Regions from separate parts of the Homo sapiens genome. Here all the other regions are linked to region 2. Evidence: promoter capture Hi-C in 16 types of primary human blood cells and fetal thymus (Javierre and others, 2016). All regions are on one chromosome and are shown on one strand. The core of a region is centred on a gene start or on the middle of the fragment in contact, and the rest is flanking DNA. Distances in the headings are between cores, read along the strand shown. Region 1 overlaps MAP7D3 (MAP7 domain containing 3). Region 2 holds the start of BRS3 (bombesin receptor subtype 3). Region 3 overlaps ARHGEF6 (Rac/Cdc42 guanine nucleotide exchange factor 6). Region 4 overlaps ARHGEF6 (Rac/Cdc42 guanine nucleotide exchange factor 6).

Region 1 (4,811 bases), core at 1,696-4,195, 250 kb after region 2:
CTCTTTTTCACTTCTGTCTTTCTTCAGTTTGTCTTTTGTGGTACTGGGCATCTGGCTACCTGTCTCATTCCGTATGATTCTCTCTGACACCAAATTTTTCTCTTGTAGGTCATTTCACTACTTGACTTGGAGTATGCTTCACTCCTTCTGAATCTAGCGTGGTCGCTGTGACACTGTCCTCTATCTTCCTGGCATTCTCTCTTTCTCTTTATTCCAGGGATTTTTTTTTTTTCTTTGAGACAGAGTCTCACTCTGTCGCCCAGGCTGGAGTATAGTGGCGTGATCTTGGCTCACTGCAACTTCTGCCCCCCCGGTTCAAGCAATTCTCCTACCTCAGCCTCCCAAGTAGCTGGGATTGCAGGCGCCTACCGCCACGCCTGGCTAATTTTTGTGTTTTTAGTAGAGATGGGGGTTCACTATCTTGGCCAGGCTGGTCTTGAACTCCTGACCTCGTGATCCACCCTCCTTGGCCTCCCAAAGTGCTGGGATTACAGGCGTGAGCCACTGTGCCCAGCCTATTATAGGGATTCTTAAGTGTCCCTAAATAAGCCTTAGTCTGTCTTTTGGTCTCTGACTCTGGCCTTTTTCTGCCTGAGGCAGCTTGATTTTCTTTATTCTGTCTTTGTCTTAGCTTCTGTCTGTTTTTCCCCATCTTTATATCCTCTGCCTGCCATTCTCTCAGTGTGTTGTATTTTTATTTCCCTCTCTTATTTTCTGTCACTCTAATATTTGCATTTCTTTTTCTCTCCTTTTCTCTTTGGTTCCATTTCTCCCATGAAGCTTCCTCTTGTCTTTCTCTGCGGTGCTCAGTTTCCTCCCTCCTCATCCATACCTTTGCTCTTGTACGTGCTTCCTCTCCAGCCCTGCACCCTATCTGGAGAGCTTCCTGATTCTAGGACACTTCTTGTGCCACTTTTTCCCCATCCATGGTGTACTATATCTCTCCCTTTCTGAACCCTTTTCTGTGGTTGTTTATGCTCTGTTTCATGCTCTAGTATTTGGTAGACTCTCATTCAGAATTTCTGTCACTTTCCATCATCTTCTTGAAACATCTCTCTTATTTTACTTTTCTGTGGTAAAGAGATGAAGGCCAGAGAAAGAGAGAGAATGAACTAAGTAATGATAAACGAAGAAAGAACCAAGAACTAAGTAAAGAACCAAAGAAAGTGAAATACAAACTGTGTGTAGAGTGAGTGGGAGTCCATGGAGGAGAGAGACAAGTCACAGGGACTGAGACCAAAAAATAAAGACTATCTTAGAGAAAGAGGAAGCTGCCAGAGAGAACACAGAGAATAGAAGAGAATGCAGCAAAATGACACTGCAGACAGAAAGGGAGCCACAGACATGGCAGGAGAAGGGGCAAAAGAAAACCCCAGATAGCTAGTGCGGGAGAGTCCCAGACAGAACAGGGGACATGGGACACTGTAAGTAGGCTACATATAGCAAAAGAGAGGAATTCTGGAGAGCAGAAAAAAAAAACCCAGACTCAGTGGTGCTGAGGAGGGATGAGTGTGGACAGGAGGTGTATATGAAATGGGATAGGAACTTCTATGTGAGCCCTGGGTGGCCACGATGTGAGAAGGGACCTGGAAGAGAGCACAGTAGGTAATGCATTTGGAAACAGTGGAATAGAATCAGAAATAGTTTAATAATACAAAGTTAATCTTTGTTTTTAGTCTATTATAGTTTCAGGGTTTCTAAGTAATTCAGAACAACTGCCTTTCTGTTAGAAAATATAATTTTCAAATGTTGCCCATTGTATCAACTTTATTTTAAGAATTGCGGTTGCTTTTCTTCTCAGAAGATATGGCTCATCTCCATTTTCCTAGTACGTTTATCTTTGCCATTGGTAGAAACAGTAGAGGCTTTGTAAGGATGGTGTTTGCTATGAAACGGTTGTTGTTAGGGAAAAATAGAAGATCTCTGGTCCTAAAAGTTGATTTGCTTACCTGAGTTCATGGTATGGCACAGTACAAGGATGAGAAATATTTGAGAGAAGAGCTCATTTCTGGAAGTGGAGTTGTTTTGCTGCAGCATGGTATTTACTTTGTATAGCTGTTGTCTTGACCAGCTAAAGTTGAGGTCAAGACAAATATATTGATTATCTTTTTTGAAACTTTATTTTTATTAGTTAACACCAGAATTTTAGCTGTTACAGATGTGAGTATACTAGATGATTCTGGTATAAATTTAACTTATATGTGTGCTGATTTTTCCCCTGCCTCATTCTACAAAGAATTTAAGGTGACTTAAAAATACATACCACACCAGATGATAAAAATAAATGGTTGGGGGAATCAAGCAGAGGGGAAAACTAACATAGGCAAATAAAACATAAGGTATGATTAGCATGCACAAAAGTATACCAATCAGTCTTTGTACAGTTGCTAGAAAGAGGCTACACATTTGGCTCTAAATTTCCTAATGATACAAACAAAGAGGAAAGCATGGTCATTTTCTTAATGCAAGGTCCATAAGATAAAAAAAAATGAGTTATTTAGGAGAAGCACTGGTATTGATTGATAGCTGAGACATATCTCCAATTATTTTAAACTTTTACCTGAGACAGAAATTTGGTTATGGTTTATTTTATAAACCACAGATCAAAATTATACTAATTTGATGAATATGTAAAAATATGTTGGCTTTTATTTTAAATAGGAAAAATTTACAGCCATTCTTTATCGTACTTTGGAACGGAGGAGACTTGCTGATGATTATCAGCAAAAAAGATGGTCATGGGGAGGCTCTGCAATGGCGAATTCTGAGAGCAAAACTGGTAATTAATACACCCATTAAATTTTAAGTTTGTTTATGTTCTTGTTTAAATATTGGCTATGAGTAGAAGCTTGCATTTACAGCAAGATTTTAGTGTTTGTATCCTAAACAAAAATACTGTATATAGTAAATTTAAATTTCTGTCATATGCCATTGCAAAAGAAACAGGTGAAATGTTATAGTAGATTTTATTTAGCTCAATATACCTAAAATCTTATTTAAACTTATAATCAGCAGAAAAATGCTGAATAATGACTAAGCTTTACACAGCTTATCAAATGCATATTTTTAAAAATAAGTCTGCCTTGTCTACTATTGATTTAGTGTAAATTTTCTTATATGCACATAATTCTACACAATTTCAGAAAACAAAAGTAAAATTTATGTAGTTTAGAAGGATTGGCCAGTTGCCGTGGCTCACACCTGTAGTCCCAGCACTTTGAGAGGCCAAGGCGAGCAGATCACTTGAGGTCAAGAGTTCAAGACCCGCCTGGCCAACATGGTGAAGCCCCGTCTCTACTAAAAAAAAAGGATTGACGGGCAGTGATATTGTGAACTTGAGTAATGTAAGTCTGTGCTCCATAGAACTATATCATGAAAACTCATTTTTTTTTCAGTTAATGATTCTTTCCTCCTTGAAATATGATTACAGTAAGTATTATGTCTTTTCTCAGCCAATAAACGATCTGCATCTACTGAAAAACTTGAACAGGGTACTTCTGCTTTAATCAGACAAATGCCTTTGTCATCTGCAGGCCTTCAAAATTCCGTTGCCAAAAGTAAGTAGTTATTTCATGTATTCTACTGAATTTCTATTAAATGAAATCAGTTCTTTATATTTTTACAGTACCACCTATTTAGATTGTGGAACATTTATGTTTATTTCAGAAGAGTCCCATGTTATTTTACAGCAGAGGGAGAGAGATAGTCATACTTTTTTTTTTTTTTTTTTGAGACAGAGTCTCACTCTGTTGCCCATACTGGAGTGCAGTGGCATGATCTTGGCTCACTGCAACCTCTGCCTCGTGGGCTCAAGCGATTCTCGTGCCTCAGCCTCCCAAGTAGCTGGAATTACAGACCTGCATCACCACGCCCAGCTAACTTTTGTACTTTTGGTAGAGACGGGGTTTCACCATGTTGGCCAGGCTGGTCTTGAACTCCTGACCTCAAGTGATCCACCTTCCTCGGCCTCCCAAAGTGCTGGGATTACAGGCGTGAGCCACCATGCCTGGCCTTGTATTTTCATCAATATACTTGTTTCATGATGTTTGTGTTAATCATATCAGATGGGATTATTGGACCTCAGTAGCTGAAACTGAAACATATTTTGGTCAAAAGACACTGCCATTAAGTGGCATAATTATTTATTTGAAGATTAGTTCATATTCTACCAACATATAAATGAAATTGTGTTTTCTACAGACTGGTTAGACAGTTATTCAATTTCCATTAAGTATTGTGAATATTACCTCATTTTAGAAAAATAATAGCATATATATAGCAGTGGACAGGTTGATCTGCATTACATATATCATATTTGTTATTCACAATTATCTTAGAAAATTGACAGACAAGTATAATTGCCTTCCTTGTTTTATAGTTAAGACTCCAAGAAATTCAGTGATTTCTACTCTAACATCCTTTTCTGTGGTTTATATTTTGGTCATTTGATAGATGGATCATGATATTTAAGTTGTACCTTTCATTTATAAGTCAATGTTTTCCCCCAAAAGCAAATAATGTGATAATGATGTTTAATGATAGACGTATTGCCAAGTTCCACTTTACAACTCTTCCTAATGGCAATACAGAGTTGTTTCAAATACAGTGAAGTTATCTACTATGAATAATTCAAATGTCTTTTTGTTTCTGGTGTTTGTCCTTTTAATTAGTGTTCCTTATTAAAAGAAAAATCTATACCCAAGTGTGTGTCAATAACCATGTCTGGCTTGTAGCACATGGTGCCTCTCACTGATAATTGAAATGGATTAGGCAACTATACCCATCAATCCAAAAAAAAGATCCCTTTTCTT
Region 2 (4,697 bases), core at 1,981-4,480:
GTTAGAAAAATATTTTTAATCAAATGGAACTATGTTTTGGCAACATTCCTTTTATTCTGTCCATATTTATGAGAGGGAGGGTACACGTGGCTCTTGCAGTGGTCTTAATCAAGCTTCTGTGAGTCACTGTGTTCTCGTGCTACTTGCATTCCACTCTTTCCCCTCACTCCTCCCCACCTCAGTTTGCTCATCTGTGTGTAAGTGGTTTGCATTGAATAGTGTTACGGATTCTTGCCAGTTCTATATGCTATGTATTTTTATTCTGTTACACTTTCTAAAACAAAAGATGCTTTTCTTCATAGTATCATCTTATGCAGTGTTCCCCACTATTCCATGGGGTAAAAAATTTTGACTACTCTCAAACTTCAATTGTCCCCTCTCTAATAGTAGTAGTCTTACCATTTATTGAAATACTTACTCTGCACCTAAGCATTTCATCTATATCATCTAGTAATCATCTTCATTTTACAGATGAGGAAACCGAGGCTCAGAAAGGTTAGGTAACTTGCTCAAGATTACTCAGCTAGTACGTGATAGAACTGGGATTCAAACCGGAGCCTATGCTCATAACAAAAATACTACACTGCTATTGCATTTATAAACAGGAAGATACACAGTTACTCACTGTGCAAAAGTAGGAACTTCACTTCTAAATTCAAACTAGATTTGCATGAGTACTGATTAATACATACCTGCTTACGGGCATGGCTTTGTTCCTCAGTAGGTATGTTCAGGGTGCTTTTGTAAAGGGTCCTAGCAATCAAGGAATAGTAGACAGAGATAATAGAGAGTGGAATAATGTAGAACACTAAGAAGCACAGCAGAGAATGTATTTCTTGCAAGAGCTTCTTAGAGACAGGATAAGAGGTACATGATTCAAATGTCATATTTTTATTGGGATCTCGAAAAGTGTATACATTTGAAAATATAGCCTCAGGTAGAGCAAATATCATAGACACGATCCAGACGCAGCCAGCTTTTACACAAGTCTTCAGGATGGCATTGGAGGGCTGTCGCTCAAGTGGCTTCACAACTGCCTTGTATCTAGAAACACATAATCAGAGGCAAAGGTCCAAATAAATGTCAAAGTTACCAAATTTTAGGGTGAGAAGTGACCTTAGTGGTCATCCAGTTCTACCCTCCGTGCATATGTGTATAACCAAGTCAACATTAACCAACTAGAATTGGCTATGGTTTTAAATGCACATAATACATCCCAATATTTTTATTTATGCTAATCTCCTTTTCCATTATTCACTCCTATGAGATATTCCAGATTTGCAATTTTATAATTTTATGTATAGACTCTCTATTTAGGACAAATAAACATTTATCAGCATGACTTTATGTGTGACTGAGAGTAATTCACCACCTGTGTATTACCTTAAGTGTAATACACTTAAGGTACCTAAAAGACTTCTTTTGTATAAGTGACTGATGTTAAACTGAATTAATTTTCCTTTCTTCATGAGTGAACAGTTATCAACCTTCCTAGAAGAGAATTCCAAGGGTTTATGTGGTAAAGAGGAGAGGATTAATTTCTTCCCCGTTTGTAAGTGTTAATTCGTTGCCCAACCTGATCAGTGGACAGATTTAGGGCGAGGCAAAGTTGCAATCAGAAGTCCTGTGCCGGTACAGAGATACCTCCTCATTCAAACAAATCCACCTTAAAATCTACAGTCATTAAGCCAGTCTGCCCTCAAATAGAATATAAGACCAGTCAAAGCAAAAATCATCAAAAGACACAGGGAAAGGTTTTCCTCCTCTCAGATTCTAGAATCTGAAGAAGTTATTCCTTCTGGTACTGCCAAACATCGATTACTTACAGGAATCTTGCAGGCTTTGTAAAGCATCATTTTTAACATTTGGAGCCTCAAATTTTTTCATGTTTTTACAGTTATTCTACAATAGGAACACAGAAAAACAGAGTACTTGGACTGAAAATATCCTAACACAGAATCTGAACACCCTGACTGCAAGAGGATCTCACACGCTCTCTCCACAGAGCTCTAAAAGTCAACCAAGATTAATTTATTTCTCTGGAAATGATAATGTCACTGAATGCCTACAGAGAAAACAAGTAGAATTACGTGATGACATTACACTAAGTTACCAGGGAGTTGAAAACCTCACCGTTTTTCTGCCATTAGCTAATTTGATGAATTTCAAATAAATTAGATGCCTGTGTCTTTTTACCACTCTTCCAATATACAGTTATACATATGTGGTCAATTTCACACCTATCCTGGTTTTCATGTTGACTATATTGCACCACTAGGCTGCACTAATGTATAAAGCATGAATTTTTTTCCTTTACACCTGGAACAATTTGCTTTACTTAATAAACTGGAGAAAAATAAAAACCCCGTTCAGTATACTTCCGAGCAAACAATAAGAATAAATTATCCATAAAGCATGCAATTTCAACTTCTCCTCCGTGCTAACACAGAAATTTTAACATTCTTACACTAACTTTTATTTTAAATGCCACCAGATTTTCCAATCTCACATCCACGTTACAGAGTGTGAGAAAAGCAGAATAGTAGCCAGTAAATGCTAAGTACAAGCTTTCCTTTCTTTTTGCCCAATTTCACATCCTGGCAAATATAATGGAGAAAAGAAACTCACCTGTCAGCGCTGAGAATTGTTAATGTGAACACTGACACACCAACAGAAGTGAGCCGGATGAAAGAGAGCACCTTACAACCAATTCTTCCGAACAGCCATCCTTCTGCAAGGTAGTGAGTTGCATCCACTGGCACACAAGTTAGCAGAAGTAAAAGATCTCCAAAAGCCAGGCTGGTGATGAAAATATTTGGAACTGTTTGCATGGATTTGGTCTTGAAAAAGACTTTGATGAGAATAGCATTTCCAAGGATGCCCACTGAAATGATCACAGCATAAGTAATATAGATGGCACACAATGCTTCTATTCCTGGAGAGTTGTCCCCGCTCCATCCTTTATTTGTGTTATCGTTAGAAACCACAGAGCTTGATGATTCTGTGTCATTTGTGATTGAAATTAAAGTCTGATTAGGTGAGTGAGGCTGCCTTTGAGCCATTTCTTCTGAAGACTGTGTCTTTAATATTTCTTCTTCTCAGTTCAAATGCAGTTGATTGTCACGTCCAATGCCTACGTCTAGTAACGAGATGGTATTAGGAGAACAGAACAGAACAGAATGGGAAGAAAATCCAAGACATCCAGATACTCCTTTGCTTCAGTTCTGTGTGTCTCCCAGCATGCTTGGCTAAATGCTTACCCATCTGGCACTGAAGAGTAGGAGGTGGAGTTTTATTGGCGTGTCCTGTCATAAGGAGAGGGAGGGGGCTGGGGAAATGCTCTGCAGTTGCTTATTCTTCCCTGTTGGGGAATCTTGGGACCAACTAGACCCTATTAAATCGTCTTATTTATTATTAGAATCACCCTGTTTTCATATCTACCCAGGATGGTCTATATAGGTTTTGTCAATTTTTTTTAAGAAAAAAACCATTTATCCCCCTGCAATCACATGGTAGTCTAGTGCATTTTGTTTTACATGATAAATAAGTGTAGGTGTCCCCTGAAGCACAACCTTGAACCCACTCCTCAAAATTTAATATCAGAGAGATGGTGAAGCAACAGATCATTTACACTTCGACAGGGTTTATGTCACCTCCAAGGAGTGATCATTCAGGTCACTTGGGCTTAATACCTAGCTCTGTCACGTGGTAAACCCCAACTTTGCAGTTATCCAGGCTGTGCTGTACACTATCAAAACAACCTTTTTAATTTTTTTTTTTTTTTTGAGATGGAGTCTCACTCTGTCACCCAGGCTGGAGTGCAGTGGCTCGATCTTGGCTCACTGCAACCTCCACCTCCTGGGTTCAAGCAATTCTCCTGCCTCAGTCTCCCGAGTAGCTGGGATTACAGGCGCCCGCCACCATGCCTGGCTAATTTTTGTATTTTTAGTAGAGACAGGGTTTCACCATGTTGGCCAGGCTGGTCTTGAACTCCTGACCTCAGGCAATCCGCCTGCCTCAGCCTCCCAAAGTGCTGGGATTACAGGCATGAGCCACCACACCCAGCCAAAACAACCTTTTAAGAGATGAAAAATCCAGGCACAGCACCAGTTGCTTTGTCTCTAAATGTCCTAATAAAACCACTTTTTACTGTTTGACTGTCTGTTTTAATGCCATGTTTTCTTTTAAGGGGCTGTTTAGGATTTTTCTCTCTAGAAATGGTTAAAGGGAACCTAACCTGCCTTATTCCAAAACAAAACAATACAGAACATCACTGCTCAAGCTCCTGACACAAAAGAACTTTTAAGAATGAAAATCATCATTTGCAGATGAAGAAATGAAATAGGTGACTCCAGGGATGATGGGCATGTAGATGATGTTTACATCAACTGAAAGAAGTACACATTTAAGGCAACCACCTCAGTACCAGCCAGAGAAGCTACTTTTTACAGAAAACATAACCATGTGCTTTATATGTATGTGTTTGTGGTGGGGGCACTGTTTGGGAGCAGGAAGCTAGCAGTTGGAGTGTAGTTACTAATTGAAGCTGCTAAGAAATATTCTCTGAAATTATCAAATGCAATGCATAATCTCTCAGCTAGAAACCATGTAGTGAGGTGTTCATAAATATAACCATATTAGAAAGTAGTCTGGGGAGCGAAGTGAAAAAGAGCAAAGTATTTGGCTAGCTAATGAAC
Region 3 (4,502 bases), core at 139-2,638, 200 kb before region 2:
GGGGATTGCAGGGATAACCTGCAATCCGCTCTGTTTCCAGCCTCCTAGTACTTTATTACTGATAGCAAGTTTTTTGAACACACTTCACACCTTATAGCAGCACACCACAGTTGGGAACCATGGCATAAGACGTGTTCTAGGGAGAATAAGTAGGTCACTTTGCACTAGGGGTTTCCTGCTGGGGAGTAGTGAGAAAGATGGTGGAGCCAGTAGGAGTTTAAAAAGTTAAGACTTGATCTTGTAGGCACTCAGCCTCTTGGGTAGGAAAGCAGTGAGGCTAAAATGGTAGTCTGTAGGACCTGGAAAAAGCCTGGAAGCCAGGAAAACAGTTGGTCTATTGAAGTGAGCCAGATGGAATGAGCTGAAATCCTGAACTAAGGCAGTGGCAGCAGGAATGGAAAGGAATGAACAGATCCAAGAAGATTTGTGACTGACTGGATATGCATGGCCAACCAAAGAGGTAAAAGGGCCATGTAATAAAGCAGAAGTTTCAACATAAGCTGTCACTTAGGCAGTAGGTTTCCTCCTCTAAGTATATTTTGCTTAAATATGTATCAAAATGATCTTGCAGCCCCAGGACTCAATATCCCTGTTGGTGGAAAGTAAACAGTTTGGAACGGTGCTAAACAGCAGAAAAAGCACTGGCTTAGAATTAGACATTTACAGCACACAGTTCATAAAATATTAATATATTTTTTCACCAAGTTACTGCCTTATGGAAGTGTTTGGTTAACCTGCTTCACTGGTTTTTGATATTGGGCTAAGTGACTTTGTGGTTAGTCATACAAACATGCTGGTATCTAAATGCAGGAAGTGATTCTAGAACATTACAAGTGGGTGATACAACCTTGTGGATTGTTATCTTTAGGCACCTGACCAGCCAATAACTAGGACGTTTGAAGTGATTAAGAAAATCTATTTTTTAAATTATACTTTAAGTTCTGGGTCATCTGATACACTGTATATCTCACGCCCATGAATGTAGGCTCCTTAAGGGTGGGGATTTTTTTTTTTTGTTCACTGCTGTAGCCCCATCAGAGAACAGAGCCTGTCACTTAGTAGATGCTCAATCAGTAATTGTTGAATGTGTGACACCAGGGATCATGAGTGTCTGGCTCACCAAAGGAGCCCTGGTGCTGATTTTACAGAAGGAGCTTAATAAAACCTGATTTAGTTGAGCCAAAACAAATTGAACAGCATTTGGACTAGTAAAACACATTTTTATTTGGCTTTATATTGTGTGAAATACAGTAAAATAATTTTAGGTTGATAATTCTTTACATGAGATATTCAACAGTAACAAAATTATATTTGTTCTTTTGCTAGTGATGAGTTGGAACAATTCATGGAAAATCAAGGTGCATCGAGCCCAGGTATCCTCATTTTAACAACAAACCTCAGCAAACCATTCATGCGACTGGAGAAATATGTTACTCTCTTGCAAGAGTTAGAACGGCATATGGAGGTAAGGGAAGGTGAACTTTTTCAAGCTCGTGTGCCAAGTATGGTCCTGTGCTCTGGAGGACGCAGCCAATTTGCCTCCAAAATGGCCTTGCAGAGGAATCAAGGTCTTGGATTCAAAATTTACTTTATCTGTTCTTCCCTCTTCTCAGGCTTCTAGTTTTCCTTTTTATGCAGCAAAATAAGATCCTTACTCTTTGCTACTAGATATTAATGATCATTCTCCCTTTTCGCTCTTCTCTTCCAAGCCTTGGTCCTGTGGCTTCCCTTAAGTCTATGCTTACTTGCTAACTTGAGTTTTCTTTTGCCCTCTCAGTAGTTTGGTCAAAATCCAACTAAGAAATCTTCTTTGTTTCTGGTATATTAACCAACTTTATTGTGGGAGATAGAGCAAAACAACATCAGAATGTACAAAGAACAAGTTCACTATAGACAGGAATATTTATCTCTAGAATTCTGCCATCATTCAACTTCCTGACTCTGGATAACAGTGGAAGATTCTGGTATTCCTTAAAGACTAATGGATGGATACAATATTAGTGGTATCTCTCTACACATCATGCATGTACATCAGAGTCCCCCCACATTTTTATTTATAAGCCTACAGTTTACTTGCAACTGTTGTAGCATAGCTATAATCTTTTCTAAATTCTAAGATTTTGCAATGAGGCCTGATAATTGAATATTTTTTCACCAAGAACCAAAGGCCTCATGTTATGAAAAACCAATCAGCAGAGCTAGCTCCTTGAGCCATTCTTTTGTGATTGTTCATGGGGGATTTAAGTGTGGGTGGGAGAGGAGGGCCTGCTGGAGGAGGCTGCATTTACCCTAGTTGCTCTTCCTGTGTCTGGGGAAAGGTTTTGAGGTTTCAAGGGGTTTGATTATCTTTAAAGAAAAAGAGTGCACCCGCACTCTGCCGGGCTTGTCAGCATTTGTAAGGATTGAAAGAATGTTCTCTGAGCGAAACCACATTCTCAGGGTATTTGACCTGCCTGAAAGCCGGAGGCAGTGGGGAGCTGGTGAGCAAAGCCTGTCAGTGTGAAATTTCAGTTAGGGCTCAGGAAGGTGTTGACCTCTGGATGCCTTTCCATAAGCTAAACCAGTTTGCTGAACCGTTTGAGGTTTGCCCCTCCTTGCTTATCACAAAAATCCAGAAACGAGTGGCCTCAGTTTCTATTACTTTTCAGTGTTGAAATGCAAATATGCACTTATTTTGGGGAGAAACAAATCCCAGATGCTCCTGCTGCCTGGATCCTATATCTCAGTCTTTCTTGTAGTGGAGCCTGTTCTCCTCCTGCTTCCATTTGCTGTGGGTCACATGTCTTTGGCTGCCTCTCATTTCCCATCATCAGAAAATACAAGCCTTTAGAACTAGTTCACCACTGGGTGAGACACTTTGTGCAGATTTCAGAGCATTTGGCATGGCTGCTAACAGTAGAATAAAGCCTGAACTTCTTGTTTGTCAGTTGATTTGGATAAGGATAAATTTTACTGTAAAGGAATACAACCTTACTTTTTATGAGCAATGTCATTCTTGGCTTGGGTCAGGCCCCTAATCTGTTCAGCTCTGTATTTTATCACCCGAGACTAGTGGGGCAGGAGATTTAGTCTTCCCTTACTCCAGCTGAGTTCCAAAGGACATATCCCCTATGCCCCAATGTTAGGTGCACATCTACCCATAAGAATCTGTGTCTTCCCTTCATAAACAGTTATGGAATTATGGATTCCTCTAAGCCGTTTTTGAATCTGTCCACTTTCGGAATTGCAAGTACCACAGGATTGCAGGCCATGTGTAAGAGCCTTGCTTAAGAAGGAAAATATGGTATGAAACTTGGAATCTTTTCCCATCTGCCATGTTCACACTGCTGAAAGAAAATGGAGGCATTTTAGGAAATGGAATTAGATTGATTTTTCTCTTGAGTTTTTGTTGTTGTTGTTTGTTTGTTTGTTTGTTTTGAGACAGGGTCTCACTCTATCACCCAGGCTGGAGTATAGTGGCACAATCACAGCTCATCACAGTCTCGACCTCTGGGCTCAGCTGATCCTCTCAGCTCAGCCTCCCAAGTAGCTGGGACTATAGGCATGCACCACCATGCCCGGCTGATAGATTGATTTTTCTCTAACCACGACTCTTGTTTCCACCATTCCCTACCTCCTGTCATCTACCAACAACATGACCTAATGATGTACCCCGAATAATTATTTAATTATTATATTTATTATTAAATAATCATTATCCAAAGTATAATAGCAAAAAGGGAAGTGGGAACTCTTGCCTTTTACTACATTGTTACTAAATATATGATGCATTACCAACTCTCTTAATTTCTTAATCACCTAATAATTAGAGTCACTGAGATTCCAAATGCTCCCATGCTGCTCTATTTTTTAATCTTTAGTATAGAGTAAAATTAACGTTTTTCTTCTGGTGCACAGTTCTATGAGTTTTCACACAGGTATAGATTCATGTTACCATGACCACAATTAAAATACAGAACAGTTCCATCATCCCCCAAAATTCTCTTGCTATCTTTGTGGCCATACTCTCTTTCTACCCCTAACCCTTGGCAACTGCTGATCCTCTCTCCTCTAACATTGTTTTCAAATGTATTCCTTTGATAGGATACTCATCCAGATCATCAGGATATTCTGAAAGCAATCGTAGCATTCAAAACTCTCATGGTAGGTGATGCTTTAAAATCACAATTCTCCATTTTGTATACTTTATTCCTGAAAGAGCGATTTGTGTGTAACATTTCTTTCCCTATACAAAGGTCTTTAGAATGGAAATAAGCTTTCATGACAGTATAGCAGTGATTGTTTCACTTAATTTTGTCCTCCAAAAATCATGCTTACCTAAAGAAAGGTTGCCAGGCTGAGGGTATAAAGCAATCACATTTACAGTCTCAGCCACATTAAGCCACATTAAGCATTGGTGTGTAGGTGGGGGGTTTCCTTTTGTCTCTTTGTCTTTACCCCCATTGCTCACCTAATGACGAGTCTGTGTAACTCATCATTCACTGATTTGCATCAATACTGGA
Region 4 (4,543 bases), core at 359-2,858, 220 kb before region 2:
AGTCTTACTCCATCACCCAGCCTGGAGTGCAGTGGCACGATCTCAGCTCACTGCAACTTCCGCCTCCCAGGTTCAAGCAATTCTTCTGCCTCAGCCTCCCGAGTAGCTGGAATTACAGGCGACTGCCACCACACTCGGCTAATTCTTTGTATTTTTAGTACAGACGGGGTTTCACCATGTCGGCCAGGCTGGTTTTGAACTCCTGGGTTCAAGTGATCCACCCGCCTCGGCCTCCCAGAGTGCTGGGATTACAGGCATGAACCACCACGCCCAGCCCAACCTTGGCTTTTTAAACAAATCTTCAGAAACGTTTTCTCCCAAAAAGTGGTTAAGAGCATGGACTCTGCAGCTAGAATGTTTTGGTTCAATTTCTGTCTTTGGCATTTCCTGGCTTTGTACCTTTGGATGATTTGCTTAACCTCTCTATGCCTGGGTTTCCCCACCTGTAAAATGGAAACAGCACTGGCATAATACCTACCTTAAAGAGTTATTGTAAGGTTAAAATAAGGTTTTAATTGTAAAATGCTTGTGTAAGTGTTCAGTGCTCTATGAGTGTTGACTCTTGTTATTATTATCACTTACTGTTTGGTAGGGGAGGAATGGATAAGAACATTCTTCATACAGAGGCCCTGGATAAAGTGGTTCAGTTTGCCTTTATTTGACTTCACTCTACTCCAGAAACAAACAAATCAATACTATTTTTTTCCTCCTACTTCATCTCATAAAGATTTCCTTTAATTGATGTATGAGCATTTTAGTTTAGGAGAAAGTTGATTTTGCTATTTTTTCTTGTGTATTATATGAGCATATATAATATCTTTCAATTACTGTTCCAGTTCATCCAGAGGAAGGTACTCAAGAGTTTTTTACACTTATTCACAGCTATGATGTATTTTTATCTATTTGTATACTTCAGTATTAAGCACTTGTTTTAATTTACCTGTTGCTTTATAAAATACCTAATTGTCCCTTACGACCACTCCATTTCTTTAGGATCATTATTCTTATTATATAAAAGAAAATCAAGGGGAGAAGCTTAAGAAGCTGCCTAAGACAATAGAGTTGTTATAAATTAAAAAGCAAAAGTTAAAATATAGGTATTACCTCCCTTTTATTTACCATATATTAGCAAACTATTAGCCAACTAGACTACAATAGATAACTACATGTACTGTATTTTTTTTTCAGTCTGAGTACTGTGGAGGTTACATCTTTACTGGGAAACTTCGAGGAAGTATGCACATTTCAACAGACACTCTGCCAAGCCTTGGAAGAATGTTCAAAGTAAGTGTGGCATATTTCTGATAGGATAGCCAGCAACATTGCTGTTTGTGTTTTGTTTTCCTTTTACCTGTTGCCTTTGATAAGGACACTTCATAGTTAAGTATTTGTTACAGCTCTGAACAAAGTAGCAATACATAGACAGTGTACTAGGTGGCAGTGTTCACAGTGTCAAACCACTAGTTGTATATTAGAAGTCTATATCTTGTAAATTACTTTTGACTTTATTTAAAAAATACATCAGTTTGCTGTTTCTGGTCAGTATAAGAGACACATAAGGTCTTTTTTTTTTTTTTAATGTTCCTTAAAGTTCTGGGATAAATGTGCTGAACGTGCAGGTTTGTTACATAGGTATACATGCGCCATGGTGGTTTGCTGCACCTATCAACCCGTCATCCAGGATTTAAGCCCTGCATGCATTAGGTATTTGTCCTAATGCTCTCCCTCCCCTTTCACCCCACTCCCCGACAGGCCCCAGTGTGTGATGGTCCCCTCCCTGGAGACACATGAGGTCTTAATTGACCATGAATGACACCTCTGGCACTGATTACATATTTTCTTTTGTACATTGCAAATTACTTGGAAAAGTCATTCAAATGATTCATTCAGTTTCACAGATTTGGTGTCTTTGAATTGCTCCTGATACTATGTCTATTATATTAAGAGTTGAAACACACAGAAAGTGGGGGAAGGAAAAGTATATCTTTATGTGAACCAACACATTTTTGATGGCTAGCTAGATTGTCCAGATGTTTAACTTCATACTACAGTGAACTATAATGATCATCAGGCAATATGTCTCTATAGAAAGACTAATTTTTCAAGCAGCGTATCTTAAAGAAGTTGGCAGCTTTCATCTCTCTAGGGAAATTGAGGTGATTACCTGTTATTTAAGCTTAATAGGACACAGGTGGTTGTCCAGGAAGAACGATGGAGAGGGCCCACACTAAAGGGACTTGAGGGGCCAAGAGGGATCTAGATTATTGATATGCAAAGATGTTCACTAAGCGAGAAGGGCAGATTACAAACTAGATTCATAATCCTTATGTTTTCCATTTTATAGAGAAACATGTAGAAAAAAGCCCAAGAAACATGTCAACATTTTTAGAGTCAGTATCTCCAAATGGTGGGAGTCTGAGAAATTCATTTTTCTTATTACACTTTTCTGATTTTTCTACAAATGAAGACAGGTGGCTTATAATTTAAAACATTAATTTAAAAACTTTTGAGGCCACCCTGCGTAGCAAACACCAGGCCTCCAAGATTACATAATATTCTTTTGTGGTATGTCATTTTTGGATTTGATTAGTTTTGTCTGTACTCAAACTTTAGATAAATTAACCAAGAATATTTTTAGTGTACCCAGCTAAATTTGAAAATAATCATCTTAAAAACAAACAAGCAACCATACCTACTAATTCCAAGTAAGTATCTGACCCTATGTATTACAACTGTGTTTGGTGGCTAGAGTTTAAAGCAGTGGGCAAGAATTTGAGTTTCATGGGTAAAATGGTTATAATATAGTTTCTCTTTTAACCTTGGCAAAATATTCAGAAGGCTTTCATGCTGCCAGGTTTAATTGGAATAATCTTCCTTTGCCTCCTGTTTCCTATTTTACATTCTGTGTTTTGTCCATTTTGTTTACAGGTTTCCAGAAAACCAGCACAAAGTAGGAGGTTGTCTACTGAGTCTCATGCCTCATTTTAAATCTATGTATCTGGCTTACTGTGCAAACCATCCTTCAGCTGTAAATGTGCTCACTCAGCACAGGTAAATAGTTAACATTTCCCCAACTTTTGCAATGAGATCCTTTCTTAGGACCACGTCATTTGGAAATCCAAGGTCTTCAGTTGGACTCTTGATTATCCCTGTTCATGATGCCAGGAATTGATTCATTGTTACATGGATTGATTGTCCATTAATCCAATGAATAAATTCTTGAGCACCTACTATGTGCAAGGCCCTGTACCAGCTGATGGGGATACAGGAATGAACAAGGAGGAGGAGGTCCTTCCCCTCATTGAGCACAGAATCTTGAGGGAAATGCAGATATTAAATTAAATGTTGTAAACGTGTCATATTATGAAACAGTAAATTAAAAGGGTTCTGTGAGATAACATTAACATGATATCAACTTAGTGGGATGTGAAGAAAGGGTCAGGGAGGGCTTTCCTGAAGCAAAATTCTATTTCGAGCCTATCATTTAGCTTTCCCCTACCCCAATGAATGTTTTTTCTGAGTTGCTGACACATAGCTAAACTGTGTAGCTTCATCTCTTTTTGCCTTCCCTAGTCTGCGTAGAGAAAGTTTTAGGCAATGATGTAGCTACAAAGCAGGTGTGAGCTGTGTGACAGATACTTTAAGCAAAGGGCTCTGATAATAATTATACATGAATATAAGTTGCTTCCGATTCATGATGAACAATAGAATAGTGTCTCCTTTAAGAATACGAGTCCTTGCAAGGGACCTAGATAAGTGTTACACCTCTCCTGCCATCCTTAGCTTCTGACTACCCACCCCTGACACATTCACTGACACATTCATCTGGGCCAGAAAACTGTAGGACAGGCTTAGTGACAGAATTTTACCTTTGAAGTCATATGCTGGAAATCCAGGTGGGACAAAAGCAAGTCCAACATATAGAGACTCTTGACTTAACTTGGAGACTAAGATGCAGAATGGACATGGATTCTGGAAGCTGTTCAAGACTGAAAATAATATTCTCTTAATCTGACCTAGATTTGAGCTCCCAGAGCTAGGCTAGAACATTAGTTGACACGAGCCTCCAGAAATGACAGAAATTTTGGTTCTTGTCCTGGTTTATTAAGGTGCAATATTTATTGGCTTTACAAAGATGTTATGTAAGGACATTTTAAAGGTTGAACGCAGTAAGTCCTGCTTGAAGGTCAATTTTATTCCTCTGATAAATTTTGAACTCTTATGGAATAGCAAATATGGAAATTGGAGTTTAAAGAAAGAGAGGTCATGAACCTGGCATTTTTAGGCAAGTGGCTCAACTGCTTATAGCTAACATTAGCTAGTAATAGCACTGACGATGTGCCAGGCACATGATGTAAAAGCCTATGAGGGAGTTATTATTATTACCATCTCTGCTTTACAGATAAGACATTGGAAGGCTTAGGTTAAGTAATGTGCCCAAGAACTCATAGATCTTAAGTGGTTGAGCCAGAATCCAGGTCTGTCAGACTTCTAAAAAATATTTTTATTAAGACATATATTTTATCCACAGAAAGAATAATGT

What was found. Contacts are between HindIII fragments. The CHiCAGO score rates a contact against its expected background, and 5 or more counts as called.
Region 1: a fragment that was not itself captured here is called in contact with the fragment with the promoter of BRS3 in region 2 in 1 of 17 cell types (naive CD4 T cells); the score reaches 5.3 in naive CD4 T cells.
Region 3: a contact is called between a fragment that was not itself captured here and the fragment with the promoter of BRS3 in region 2, in 1 of 17 cell types (total CD8 T cells). The highest score is 5.6, in total CD8 T cells.
Region 4: a fragment that was not itself captured here is called in contact with the fragment with the promoter of BRS3 in region 2 in 1 of 17 cell types (naive CD8 T cells); the score reaches 5.0 in naive CD8 T cells.

What each region holds. Positions count from the first base shown.
Region 1 is chrX:136,239,128-136,243,938 of GRCh38, reverse strand. It overlaps MAP7D3 (MAP7 domain containing 3), which reads left to right. Exons shown (of 19, transcript NM_024597.4): 5 at 2,662-2,779; 6 at 3,453-3,557. Among named protein-coding and RNA genes, the nearest start is that of MAP7D3, 9.9 kb to the left of the region's middle. The HindIII fragment of the contact is 190 bases long and covers 2,851-3,040 here.
Region 2 is chrX:136,486,480-136,491,176 of GRCh38, reverse strand. It overlaps BRS3 (bombesin receptor subtype 3), which reads right to left and starts at 3,230. Exons shown (of 3, transcript NM_001727.2): 1 at 2,629-3,230; 2 at 693-1,044. The coding sequence starts at 3,062. The HindIII fragment of the contact is 2,387 bases long and covers 2,570-4,697 here.
Region 3 is chrX:136,687,573-136,692,074 of GRCh38, reverse strand. ARHGEF6 (Rac/Cdc42 guanine nucleotide exchange factor 6) reads left to right here. Exons shown (of 22, transcript NM_004840.3): 10 at 1,327-1,465; 11 at 4,084-4,143. Among named protein-coding and RNA genes, the nearest start is that of CD40LG, 42 kb to the right of the region's middle. The HindIII fragment of the contact is 5,738 bases long and covers 1-4,257 here.
Region 4 is chrX:136,705,416-136,709,958 of GRCh38, reverse strand. ARHGEF6 (Rac/Cdc42 guanine nucleotide exchange factor 6) reads left to right here. Exons shown (of 22, transcript NM_004840.3): 8 at 1,189-1,284; 9 at 2,929-3,051. Among named protein-coding and RNA genes, the nearest start is that of CD40LG, 60 kb to the right of the region's middle. The HindIII fragment of the contact is 1,141 bases long and covers 1,038-2,178 here.